4 separate regions of the Homo sapiens genome follow, and all the other regions are linked to region 1. Evidence: promoter capture Hi-C in 16 types of primary human blood cells and fetal thymus (Javierre and others, 2016). All regions are on one chromosome and are shown on one strand. The core of a region is centred on a gene start or on the middle of the fragment in contact, and the rest is flanking DNA. Distances in the headings are between cores, read along the strand shown.

Evidence for each region. The method cuts DNA at HindIII sites, captures the fragments that hold promoters and counts their contacts. A CHiCAGO score of 5 or more calls a contact.
Region 2: a fragment that was not itself captured here is called in contact with the fragment with the promoter of IL20RB-AS1 in region 1 in 7 of 17 cell types (neutrophils, monocytes, naive B cells and 4 more); the score reaches 8.8 in neutrophils.
Region 3: a fragment that was not itself captured here is called in contact with the fragment with the promoter of IL20RB-AS1 in region 1 in 4 of 17 cell types (activated CD4 T cells, neutrophils, total B cells and 1 more); the score reaches 6.4 in activated CD4 T cells.
Region 4: a fragment that was not itself captured here is called in contact with the fragment with the promoter of IL20RB-AS1 in region 1 in 11 of 17 cell types (monocytes, naive CD8 T cells, neutrophils and 8 more); the score reaches 8.5 in monocytes.

Annotation. Positions count from the first base shown.
Region 1 is chr3:136,980,853-136,983,589 of GRCh38, reverse strand. It overlaps IL20RB-AS1 (IL20RB antisense RNA 1), which reads left to right and starts at 1,399. Exons shown (of 4, transcript NR_183729.1): 1 at 1,399-1,527. IL20RB (interleukin 20 receptor subunit beta) reads right to left here. Exons shown (of 7, transcript NM_144717.4): 3 at 1,240-1,430. The HindIII fragment of the contact is 2,087 bases long and covers 560-2,646 here.
Region 2 is chr3:136,359,751-136,362,487 of GRCh38, reverse strand. The region is part of intron 26 of STAG1 (STAG1 cohesin complex component); the gene reads left to right. Among named protein-coding and RNA genes, the nearest start is that of PCCB, 110 kb to the right of the region's middle. The HindIII fragment of the contact is 9,862 bases long and covers 1-2,737 here.
Region 3 is chr3:136,429,938-136,432,674 of GRCh38, reverse strand. The region is part of intron 16 of STAG1 (STAG1 cohesin complex component); the gene reads left to right. It also overlaps the pseudogene RNU6-1284P. Among named protein-coding and RNA genes, the nearest start is that of PCCB, 180 kb to the right of the region's middle. The HindIII fragment of the contact is 1,180 bases long and covers 753-1,932 here.
Region 4 is chr3:136,454,365-136,457,101 of GRCh38, reverse strand. The region is part of intron 13 of STAG1 (STAG1 cohesin complex component); the gene reads left to right. Among named protein-coding and RNA genes, the nearest start is that of PCCB, 210 kb to the right of the region's middle. The HindIII fragment of the contact is 1,326 bases long and covers 718-2,043 here.

The DNA.
Region 1 (2,737 bases), core at 150-2,649:
ACTTGATTCCTAAGCTCTGTCCTTTCTAAATCAGCCATGTTTCTTGGATTCATCATCTCCTTCCCATCCCCTTCCAAACTCTTGGGATCAGTAGGAGTATTACAACCCCCTCCTCACTCTTCCCCTGTCCTGCAGGCTTGCCCTACTCTGGTTCACTTTCCACACAGCAGCCAGAGTGTTGCTTTGTAAGATAGACCTGGTCGGCCGGGCGCCATGGCTCATGCCTGTAATCCCAGCACTTTGGGAGGCCGAAGTGGGCAGATGACTTGAGGTCAGGAGTTCCAGACCAGCCTGGAAAACATAGTGAAACCCTGTCTCTACTAAAAATACAAAAATTAGCCAGGCATGGTGGTGCACGCCTGTAGTCCCAGCTACTCAGGAGGCTGAGGCAGGAGAATCACTTGAACCCAGGAGACAGAGGTTGCAGTGAGCTGAGATCACGCCACTGCACACCAACCTGGGTGACAGAGTGAGACTCCGTATCAAAAAAAAAAAGAGATAGACCTGGTCTAGATCCTCTCCTCTTTCATTGGCTACCCTCTACTGACTTGGTCAAGCTTCGTGTCAAAGCCCTTCACCACATGATCAACTGCTTCCCTACCCCCTGCCCATCAGCCCTTGCCTCTCCTGTTCCGCAAACACACATGTCCTTTTATACAATGACCAGTGCTTGTACTCAGCCACATTTGGCCACCTATCTGGATTCCTCTATTACTTCTTTCTCAATCCTTTTCCAGGTACTACTCCAAAAGAAAAGTTATTTATTTCCCACAGAAGTCATTACAGAAGGGCAATTTTCTGGTGGCTCTGTTAAGTGTATAAATCCTCTTGCACAACAAAGCTGCTTACGTGGGCAGTAAATATGCAGTTAATGAGGCCTCAAGTGGGAGGCACAATTTATGGAGGCACAATCAGAGTAGGGAGCAGCAGTCCTGGTGCCACCTCTTCACTTCCAGAGCAGCTTTCCTTCCAGGTTCCCAATGTCAGCATCCCCAACACCTGCACACCCTGACACAGACAGTCAGGAATGACTTGAGTAGTCAAAGGGCATGACAGAGAGCAGCATGTAGAAAGCAGTTGGCAATTTTTCAAATATACCAGTAAGGGTTGTTTGTGTTCACAATACTCTGGCTTTGCAGGACTATTCTGATGCTAAAAAGAGTCTAGAAAGTTTAGGTGAACATGGTTCCTAAAGGAGGGGCTGGTTGGGGTGGGAGTGTAAGGAGAGAAGTGCCTTACTTGAGTTTCTATTAAAGGGATGCTTCAGGATGCTCCAGGCTGAGGTCTGTGAGCCCAATGTGGCCCTGACACGAAGGTTGTATGGCACAGTGGCCGTGATGTCATCAGTGACATCACACTCAGGACCTTCAGTGAGTGAGCACCAGCTGCTGGGGATCCAGATGTGGCTCGTGTACAGGCTCTCGTACTCCCTGTCAAAGAGAGGAGGGCACAGAGTTACACCAGCCCCTCTGACACAGGCTCAGTTATGGTTGCAAGTAACTGACTTCGTTCACCTACTTTGTACAGGTAAGTAAAATAAGTACTTTCTCATTATCCTAGCTCCTCCACTCTCCTCCCTACCAACCATCCATCGTCCCTTACTCCTTTTATTGCCAGATAGGGAAAGCTAGGCATAAACATCAATGTGTCTGGATCTCTTTTATCTCTTCATCTCCAGGGTCATCACCCTAATCTCAGCCACTGTCATTCCTTGCCTTGCTGTGATCTCCCAGCTTGGACACCTGCCATTCTCAAAACCATTCACCACTCAGCAGATTGTGACGTTTCTCTCCTTAATGGCTTCCTACAGGACTTAGAATGGGATCCAAACTCTTGCCAGTGGTCTTACAAGATGCTTTGGCCTTCTCTCTCACTCTGCTCCGAAGCGTGATATTCTTGCCACATTGGTCATTTCTCCAAAATGCTGAGCACTTTTTGCCTTAGGACCTTTGACTAACTGTTCACTCCATCTCAAACGCTCTGCCCCTGCTGTTCGCATGGCTGGCTCCTCTTGTCCTTCAGATATGGCATAAATATCACCTCCTCAGAGAGGCCATCCCAGGCCATCTAATATAAAGGAGCCTCAGTGTCAACTCTCTATGGCATCAGCCTTTTAGCTTCCTCCTAGCACTGATTACTATCCAAAATTCCCTAGAGCAGTGCTTTCCAAAAATAAACTTTCTGTGATGATGCAAATATTCTAAATCGATGTTGTTCAATATGGTAACCACTGGCCACATGTGGCTATTGAACACCTAAAATGTGACTAGTGTGGCAGGAAACAGACATTTTAATTTAATTTAATTTAATTTAATTTAATTTAAATTTAAATAGCCAGCTGTGGCTGGTGGCTACCATACTAGAGAATGCTGGCCTAGTATATTTATCATCTGTATCCTCCTCTAGATGTAAGCTCTCAAAATCCAGAAACCTTGTCAACTGTATCCCTGAGCCTAGAAGAATGTCTACACATGTAGGTGTTCAGTCTGTATTCATTGTTAATGAAATATATGGAGCAATTTCTGTGTCCTTATCACTATTCAATAGCTGCAAGCACCTGAACACCTGGAGAAGACTAGAGCCTGCTCAGCCCCAGGGCCAGCTGACCTTTAGGATTATAGTTCGTTTTGGCTCTAGGTATAAGCTTATAGTCAGGAAAAGTGAGGACTCCTCCACCCTTAAAGGATCTGAGTCTCCAGTGATTTATCCATCTCAAGTCAGAGTCAAACCCATTGGA
Region 2 (2,737 bases), core at 78-2,577, 620 kb after region 1:
GCCAATCTGTATAAATTTAAATAGATTAAATAGATGTATACATCAATCAGCACTTTGAGCAAAGTTAAAAAAAAAGTGACAGATGGAAATATTTTCAGTCCTACATAACAAATCCTACAGATCAGTAGGAAAGATAAATAAATCCCATAGAAAAGTGAGCGAGGGATATGAAAAAGGCACTTTTCCAAGGAAGAATCTTACAAACCAGTAAACATGAGAAGAGGCATTAGGCTGGACGCAGTGGCTCACACCTGTAATCCCAGCACTTTGGGAGGCCGAGGCGGGTAGATCACCTGAGGTCAGGAGTTCGAGACCAGCCTGGTCAACATGATGAAACCCCATCTCTACTAAAAATACAAAAAATTAGCCAAGCGTGGTGGCGGGTGCCTGTAATCTCAGCTACTCTCAGGAGGCTGAGGCAAGACAATCATTTGGACCTGGGAGGCGGGGGTTGCAGGTATCCAAGATCATGCCATTGCACTCCAGCCTGGGCCACAAGAGCAAAACTCTGTCTCAAAAAAAAGAAAGAAAAGAAGCATTAATTATATATAACATAAGTAATTAATAATTAATGAAAGCCAAGCACAGTGGCTCACACATGTAATTCCAGCACTTTGGGAGGCCAAGGCAGGCAGATTGCTTGAGCCCATGAATTCAAGACCAGCCTGGGCAACATGGCAAGACCCCGTCTCCAAAAACAAAAACAAAAATAGCCAGATGTGTTGGCACGCACCCCGTAGTCCCAGCTACTCGGGAGGGTAAAGTGACAGGATGGCTTGAGCCTGGGAGGTCCAAGCTGCAGTGAGTTATGATTGCACCTCTGCCTTCCAGCCTAGGTGACAGAGTGAGACCCCATTTCTAATAATAATAATTATTATTAATGAAATACAAATTAAAATGGATACTTACTGCTCAACAGATTGGCATGAATGAAAATGATTGACAAAGATATAGAGGAAAAGGCCCCTTTTGAAAACTGCCTTGTTAGAAGACAGTTTTGTAGTATATTCCAAAATTGAAGATATATATTCCCTTTAAGCCAGTAATTTTGCTTCTAGGTATCTACATGGATATGCACAGGTGTGTACCAATAAATATATGTAAAAGATGTTTTATTGCAGCAGTCTCTGTAATAGTAACAAACTGGAAATAGTCTAAATGTCTATCAACAGGGGAATGGTTAAATAAACTGAGCTAGATAAAGGATTTTTAAGACAAAATATTGAGTGAAAAATAGCAAGTTTCAGGACAAATGCAGTATGCTACCATTTATGTAAAAATAAAAACTTTAGCTGTAAAAGTAATATGTCTACACTGATCTAGAAAACTTTCAGACTTTAAACACTGGTTACCTTTGGAGAGAATAATGGTATTTGGTAGAAGAGAGAAAGAATAACTTTTACTTTGATATTCTTTGAATTTTTCACAACAAAATGTATTCTTTGTATTCACTTTAAATGTACACTTTAAGTTTTAAAGTTTAAGGCTATTGTATATACCAATATGTGAAAACATTTTAAAGTTTAAGAATTTATAAACAGCCTGTAATCCCAGCACTTTGGGAGGCTGAGGCGGGCAGATCACAAGATCAGGAGATCGAGACCATCCTGGCTAACATGGTGAAACCCCCTCTCTACTAAAAATACAAAAAATTAGCTGGGTGTGGTGGCGGGCGCCTGTAGCCCCAGCTACTCAGGAGGCTGAGGCAGGAGAATGACATGAACCCAGGAGGTGGAGCTTGCAGTGAGCCAAGATCATGCCATTGCACTCCAGCCTGGGTGACAGAGCGAGACTCCTCAGGAAAAAAAAAGAATTTATAAACAATTATCTATGAATAAATTTGAAATCCCTGGAAGAACTGTTCCTTCAGTAATGACATAGCAAGTAGTTCAGGCCAATCTATTGCTGAAGAAAACTAAAAAGGTGCAGAACATATTAGCACCCAGGAGCTATTTCAGTGAATGGTGTGATTAGAATAAATTGAGAGATTGGGAGGTGAGAGACTGAAGAAAAGAAATGTCAACAATACTTTTCAGGACCTTTGCTATAAAGGGAATCAGAGAAATGGGTTAGTAGCTGGCAGAGGAAATGGGGTCAAGAAGTTAAGAGTATTTTTAAGATGTATACATCTAGTACAGAAGGAATAGTTTAGGAGGCAGGAGAGAGCAGTAAACACAAGAGCAAAACTATTGAGCAGGCGAAACCTTACATACTCCCTTCTTATCTAATACATAGGAGGGAATGGCTTTAGGTGAAAGTCTGGACAGTTCACCCCTCATAACAGGAGGAAAGGTAGATGTCTACAGATAAAATTAAGTTTTTAGATTTGGTAGTGGAATGATAATTGCTTGTATATTACCTCCAGGGTTCTGTTTTTGTTGTTATTTTCACAGGAAATAGCTAACAGATATGCAATTTATAAAACTCCACCCAGCTTAAGAACTTTTTGGTATATTTTGTTACTGGGTGGGAAAAATCATAGCACCATGTATGTAAATGGTCTTCTTTTATATAATGTTCTTGTTTGAAATATAATAAGTGAAAAAACAAACCTCTTAACCCTATATTTCATATATTGTCATTCCTGTAAAAACAATAACAAAAAGAATAGATGTTTATAAATATACAGTGTACTTCTATAAATATATTTCCTTTTCCCATCTCAAAATACATTCTTTTGGCCACGTGTGGTGGCTCACGCCTGTAATCCCAGCATTTTGGGAGCCCAGGGCAGGCG
Region 3 (2,737 bases), core at 93-2,592, 550 kb after region 1:
ATGAGCTGGGCAGGGTGGCATGCACCTGTAGTTCCAGCTACTCGAGAGGCTGAAGCAGGAGAATCACTTGAACCCAGAGGCAGAGGTTGCAGGGAGCCCAGATCATGCCACTGCTCTCCAGCCTGGGTGACAGAGCAAGACTCTGTGCCCCCCCCCCCCCAAAAAAAAAGAAAACAAAAATTAAAATCTTTAGTTACTGTATTATTCAAAAATGTCTACTTTCAAGAAAAACTACAGCCATGCAAAGAAACAGTAAAATGTGACCATACTCAGGAAAAAAAGCAGACAATAGAAATGGCTTCTCAGTAGGGCTATATGTTGGATTTAGCAGGCAAAGACTTCAGAGGCCTTTTAATAAGTATATTCAAAGAATTACAGGAAAATATGAAAACAAGAAGTAGAGAATCTCAATAATGAAAACCCAAATGGAATTTCTGGTGAGAAGTACAATGCACAAATTTAAAATTAACTGAGTAAGTTAATTAGCAGATTTAAGATGATGAAAGAGACAATAGAAAAACATGAAGATTAATAGAAATTATCCATTCTGAAGAACAGAGAAGAAAAAAGATTGAAGAAATACTATCAGAGCCTCAGAAATGTGTGGAACCACCATCATGTGCACTGAAATATGTATAATGGGAATCCCAGAAGGAAAGGAGAGAGGAATAGAGGCAGAAAAAATATTTGAAGAAATAATCACTGAAAACCTCCCAAATTTGATGAGAGACAATTTGCAGATTCAAGAAGCTTAACAAAATCCAAATAAAATAAACACAAAAGTTCCACATATAGACACAACATAGTCACATTGTTAAAAGACAAAGACAAAAAATCTTGAAAGCAACAAGAGATCAACAACTAATGTAGAGGGCAGTAGCAATAGTATTAACAGTTAGCTTATCAGAAATAGTGGAGTCCAGAAGACAGTGGAATGACATATTCAGTGAAAGTCAACAAAATGGCCAACCAAGAATTACAAATTTAATAAGATTATCTTCCAAAGATGAAGGTGTAAAAAACCATTACCAGAGAAACAAAAAGGAAAAATTTGGAGAATGTGTTGCTAGATCTCCCATACCAGAAATGCTAAAAGAAGTCCTTCAGCCAGGCACAGTGGTTCACGCCTGTAATCCCAGCACTTTGGGAGGCTGAGGCAGGTGGATCACAAGGTCAGGAGTTCGACTCCAGCCTGGCCAACATGGGAAACCCTATCTCTACTAAAAATACAAAAATTAGCCAGGCATGGTGGCATACGCTTGTAGTCCCAGCCACTCGGAAGGCTGAGGCAGGAGAATCTCTTGAACCCGGGAGGCAGAGGTTGTGGTGAGCCAAGATCGTGCCACTGCACTCCAGCCTGGGCAACAGAGTGAGACTGTGACTCAAAAAAAAAGAAAAGTCCTTCAAGCCATAAGGAATATCATAAGGTGATAAAACAAATCCACAAGAAGGAATGAAAAAAGAAGGAATGGGCTGGGTGCAGTGGCTCACTCCTGCAGTCCTGTCACTTTGGGAGGCCAAGGCAGGTGGATTACCTAAGGTCAGGAGTTCAAGACCAGCCTGGCCAACATGGCGAAACCCCATCTCTACTAAAATTACAAAAATTAGCTGGGCATGGTGGCACATGCCTGTAATCCCAGCTACTCGAGAGGCTGAGGCAGGAGAATTGCTTGAACCCAGAAGGCAGAAGTTTCAGTGAGCTGAGATCACCCCACTGCACTCTAGCCTGGGTGACAGAGTAAGACTCTGTCTCCAAAAAAAAAAAGGAAGAATGTAAATCTGAAATGGTAAGTATGTGAGTGGATATAAAAGGTAAAAGGCTGTGTGTGTGTGTGTGTGTGTGTGTGTGTGTGTGTGTGTGTGTGTGTCTGTCTATGTCTGTTTCCTTCTCTTAATTTCCTTGAAAGAACATGAAATTATTTAAATCAAGCTTGTCCAACCTGTGGCCTGCAGGCTGCATGTGGCCCAGGACAGCTTTGAATGCAGCCCAACACAAATTTTTAAACTTAAAACACTATGAGATATTTTCGCTTTTTTTTTTTTTTTTTAAGCTCTTCAGCTATCGTTAGTGGTAGTGTATTTTATGTGTAGCCCCAGACAATTGTTCTTCCATTGTGGCCCAGGGAAGCCAAAAAATTGGATACCCCTGATTTAAGTAGATAATTATAGCACTATAGTGTTGAGATTATAACATAAATATATGTGACAAGAGTAACACAAAAGGGAAAAAGATATGGAACTATATTGGAGCAAAATTGCTATGTTTTATTATAATTAATTCAATATCAACCTGAAGTCAGTTACAAGTTAAAAATGTATATTATAATCCCTACAGTAATCATTCATATTTAAAAATAAAAACAGAGGAATTATAGTGGTCCTCATCTGCTAGAGACATATGCTGAAATATTTAAGGGTGAAATTATATACCGTTTACCCTTGAACAATGCAGGGGTTAGTGGCACTGACCTGCACAGTCAAAAATCCATGTGTGCTCACTTCGGCAGCAGATATACTGAATTTGGATCAATATAGAGAAGATGAGCATGGCCCCTTTGCAAGGATGACATGCAAATTTATGAAATATTTTTATGAATCTTAAAATTTAAAAAATTCACGTGTAACTTTTGATTCCCCCAGAACTTAACTACTATAGCCTACCAATAACCTAAATGATCAGAAGCCTTAAAGCTGTTAACACAAACAATGGATTAACACATTTTGTATGTAATATGTA
Region 4 (2,737 bases), core at 131-2,630, 530 kb after region 1:
CCAAGACTCTTTTATATTATGACAGACAAGCCAATCCTGCCTGAGCTTTTCTGCCAACACATTAGCATTCATTTCTTTCAAATTGAAGAACTCCTTTTGGCATTTTTTATAAGGCAGCTCTGGTGTTGATGAATTCCCTCAGCTTCTATTTGTCTGGGAAAGTCTTTATCTGTCTTTCATGTTTGAAGGATATTGTTAGGTACAGTATTCTTGGATAGCAGTTTTCTTTCTTCAAAACTTTGAATATAGCATCCCAGTCTATCCTGACCTTCAAGATTTCTGCTGATAAATCTACTGAAAGCCATATAGGAGCTCCATTGAATATGATATGATTCTTTTCTTTTGATGCTTTGAATATTTCTTCTTTGTCCTTGATTTTTGTTAATTTGATTATGATATGCCTTGGGAAATTCCTCTTTGGGTTGAATTTGTTTGATGACATCTGAGCTTTCTGTTCCTGGATGCTGTTGTCTTTCTCCAGATTTGGGGAATTTTCAGCCTTACTCTTTTAATATGCTTTCCAGGCCCTTTTTCTCTCTCGTCTCCTTTGGGAATGCTAATTTTGCAGAAGTTAGTTTGCTTGAACGTGTCCCATAATTCTCATAGGCTTTTTAAATTCTTTTTTTCTTTTTGCTCTTCTGACTAGGTAATTTCATAAGTTCTGCCTTCAGGCTTACTAATTCTTTCCTCTGTTTGGTCAAGTTTGCTGTTGAAGCTTTCTAGTGAGTTTTTCACTTCAGTTATATTCTTTATTTCTAGGATGTATATTTGATTTTTAAAAATTGTTTCTATTCATCATATTTCTCATTTTGTTTTTCAAATTTGATTTAGTTTTCTATTTGGATTTTTTGTGTGTATGTAATTCCTTAAAATTCTTTTTAAGAGGATTACCCTGAATTGCCTGTCAGACATTTCATAGATCTTCAGTTTTTCTGGATCTGTTGCTGGACCTCTGCTGGTTTTGTTTGGTAGTGTAATATTTCCCTGACTTAAGTTGATGCTTGTGTATTTGAAGAGATAGCTACCGCTTCCACTTTTTTGCAAGTTTTCTTTGGTAGTGTTAGACCTTTACTTCTTAGTTTCAGAACTTGAACCCTGGCCTCTTGTTTTTTTCTTGGTCTGGCAAGAACTTATAGTGGAATTTAAACAGTATTCCAGAACCAAGTCACTGCACTTCTGTTCTTTCTCAGTCTGGTGAAGACTCTTAGTACTGGAGCTTAAACACTTCCCTGGAACTATATTGCTGGCCTTACATTATTTCCCAACCTGGGAAATCCTTAAGTGGGTACTGCAACTTAATCCTGACCTTTTAGTTGTTTCCAGGCCAAGGAAAGACTTTATACAGTCACCTGGGCTTTGTGGAAAATACATCTAGGGATTTGATCCTTCGCTTGGATTGTGCCCCTTGCAGTGCTTTTGCACTGGCCACTCCCTTCAACATGGCATTCCCACTGGCCAATGTGCCGAGTGGCTGCCAAGATCCGTGCACCAGTTGCTGTGATGTGCACCAGTTGCTGTGATCAGCACCCTATTCTTTCTCCCCAGTTCACCCCAGGTGTTTCTGGCCTCCAGGCACTCCCAGTGGTTCCGTGGGATGGAACTGGAGTGGGCTTCTTGCAAAGATGCCCAGACCAGCAAGGAGAGCAATTTTCCACTTCTAATTCCCTCTTACCAGAATCATGGGTCTAGGGAAATTCTCTTTGAGTTTTGCCAGCTTGTAGGGAGGGGGCAGTTGGCACCGTGTGAAATGACTGTTTCTCTTACTAATCATAGTTTCTTGATTCTGTGGGCCCAGAGGGTTTCTCCACTTCTCTTCAGAGTTCTAGCATATTCAGGGTGGTATCCTTGTGTTTGAATAGTTTCTGGTTGTATCTTGGTAGGGGGAGTGATGCTCGGCAATCTTCTGTTCCACCATCTTGCTGATATCACAACACCAAAAAAAGTTTTTATTAGAATATCTGCCACAGAAATCCAGAAGGATAAGCCTCCATTAGTTTTTGTTTCTTTGTGAAAATCAAGCCAATTCTTATGCAAATGAAAGCTTCACTCCATAAATGTTTTTTAGGCCCGTGTCTTGGAGAAACTTACAGTTTGATGACTTGATTAATGATCTCTTTTATCATTCTTCCATCATTTAATATGGTGACTTAGAAAATCTTAAATAAGCTATGGTGTATCCCCAGGAGTTCCATGATCAGCTTTCAAAGATACATAAATGTACACATCCACACACGTATAGTGTCTTGTAGTCTAGTCATAAGCTATTCACAATATTAACCAATCATCCAAAAAGTAGTAAGATCTGTCTGAAATGAATGTTTTACTACATGATCAAAAATTCCACATTTTAATACTCAAAATTTAAGCAAATTCCTCAATACCTTATTTATATGCAATAAATGGAATTATTTAAATTGGCACAAACTGGGCATGGTGGCTCATCCCCATAATCCCAGCACTTTGGGAGGCCGAGGCAGGTGGACGACTTGAGGTCAGGAGTTCGAGATCAGCCTGGCCAACATGGTGAAACCCCATCTCTACTAAAAATACAAAAAATTGGCCTGGCATGGTGGCACACGCCTGTAATCTTATCTACTCCAGAGGCCGAGACAGGAGAATCTCTTGAGCCCAGGAGGCGGAGGTTGCAGTAAGCAGAGATCATGCCATTGCCGTCCAGCCAGGCCGACAGAGTGAGACTTCATCTCAAAAAAAACATAAAATAAGCCGATCACGGTGG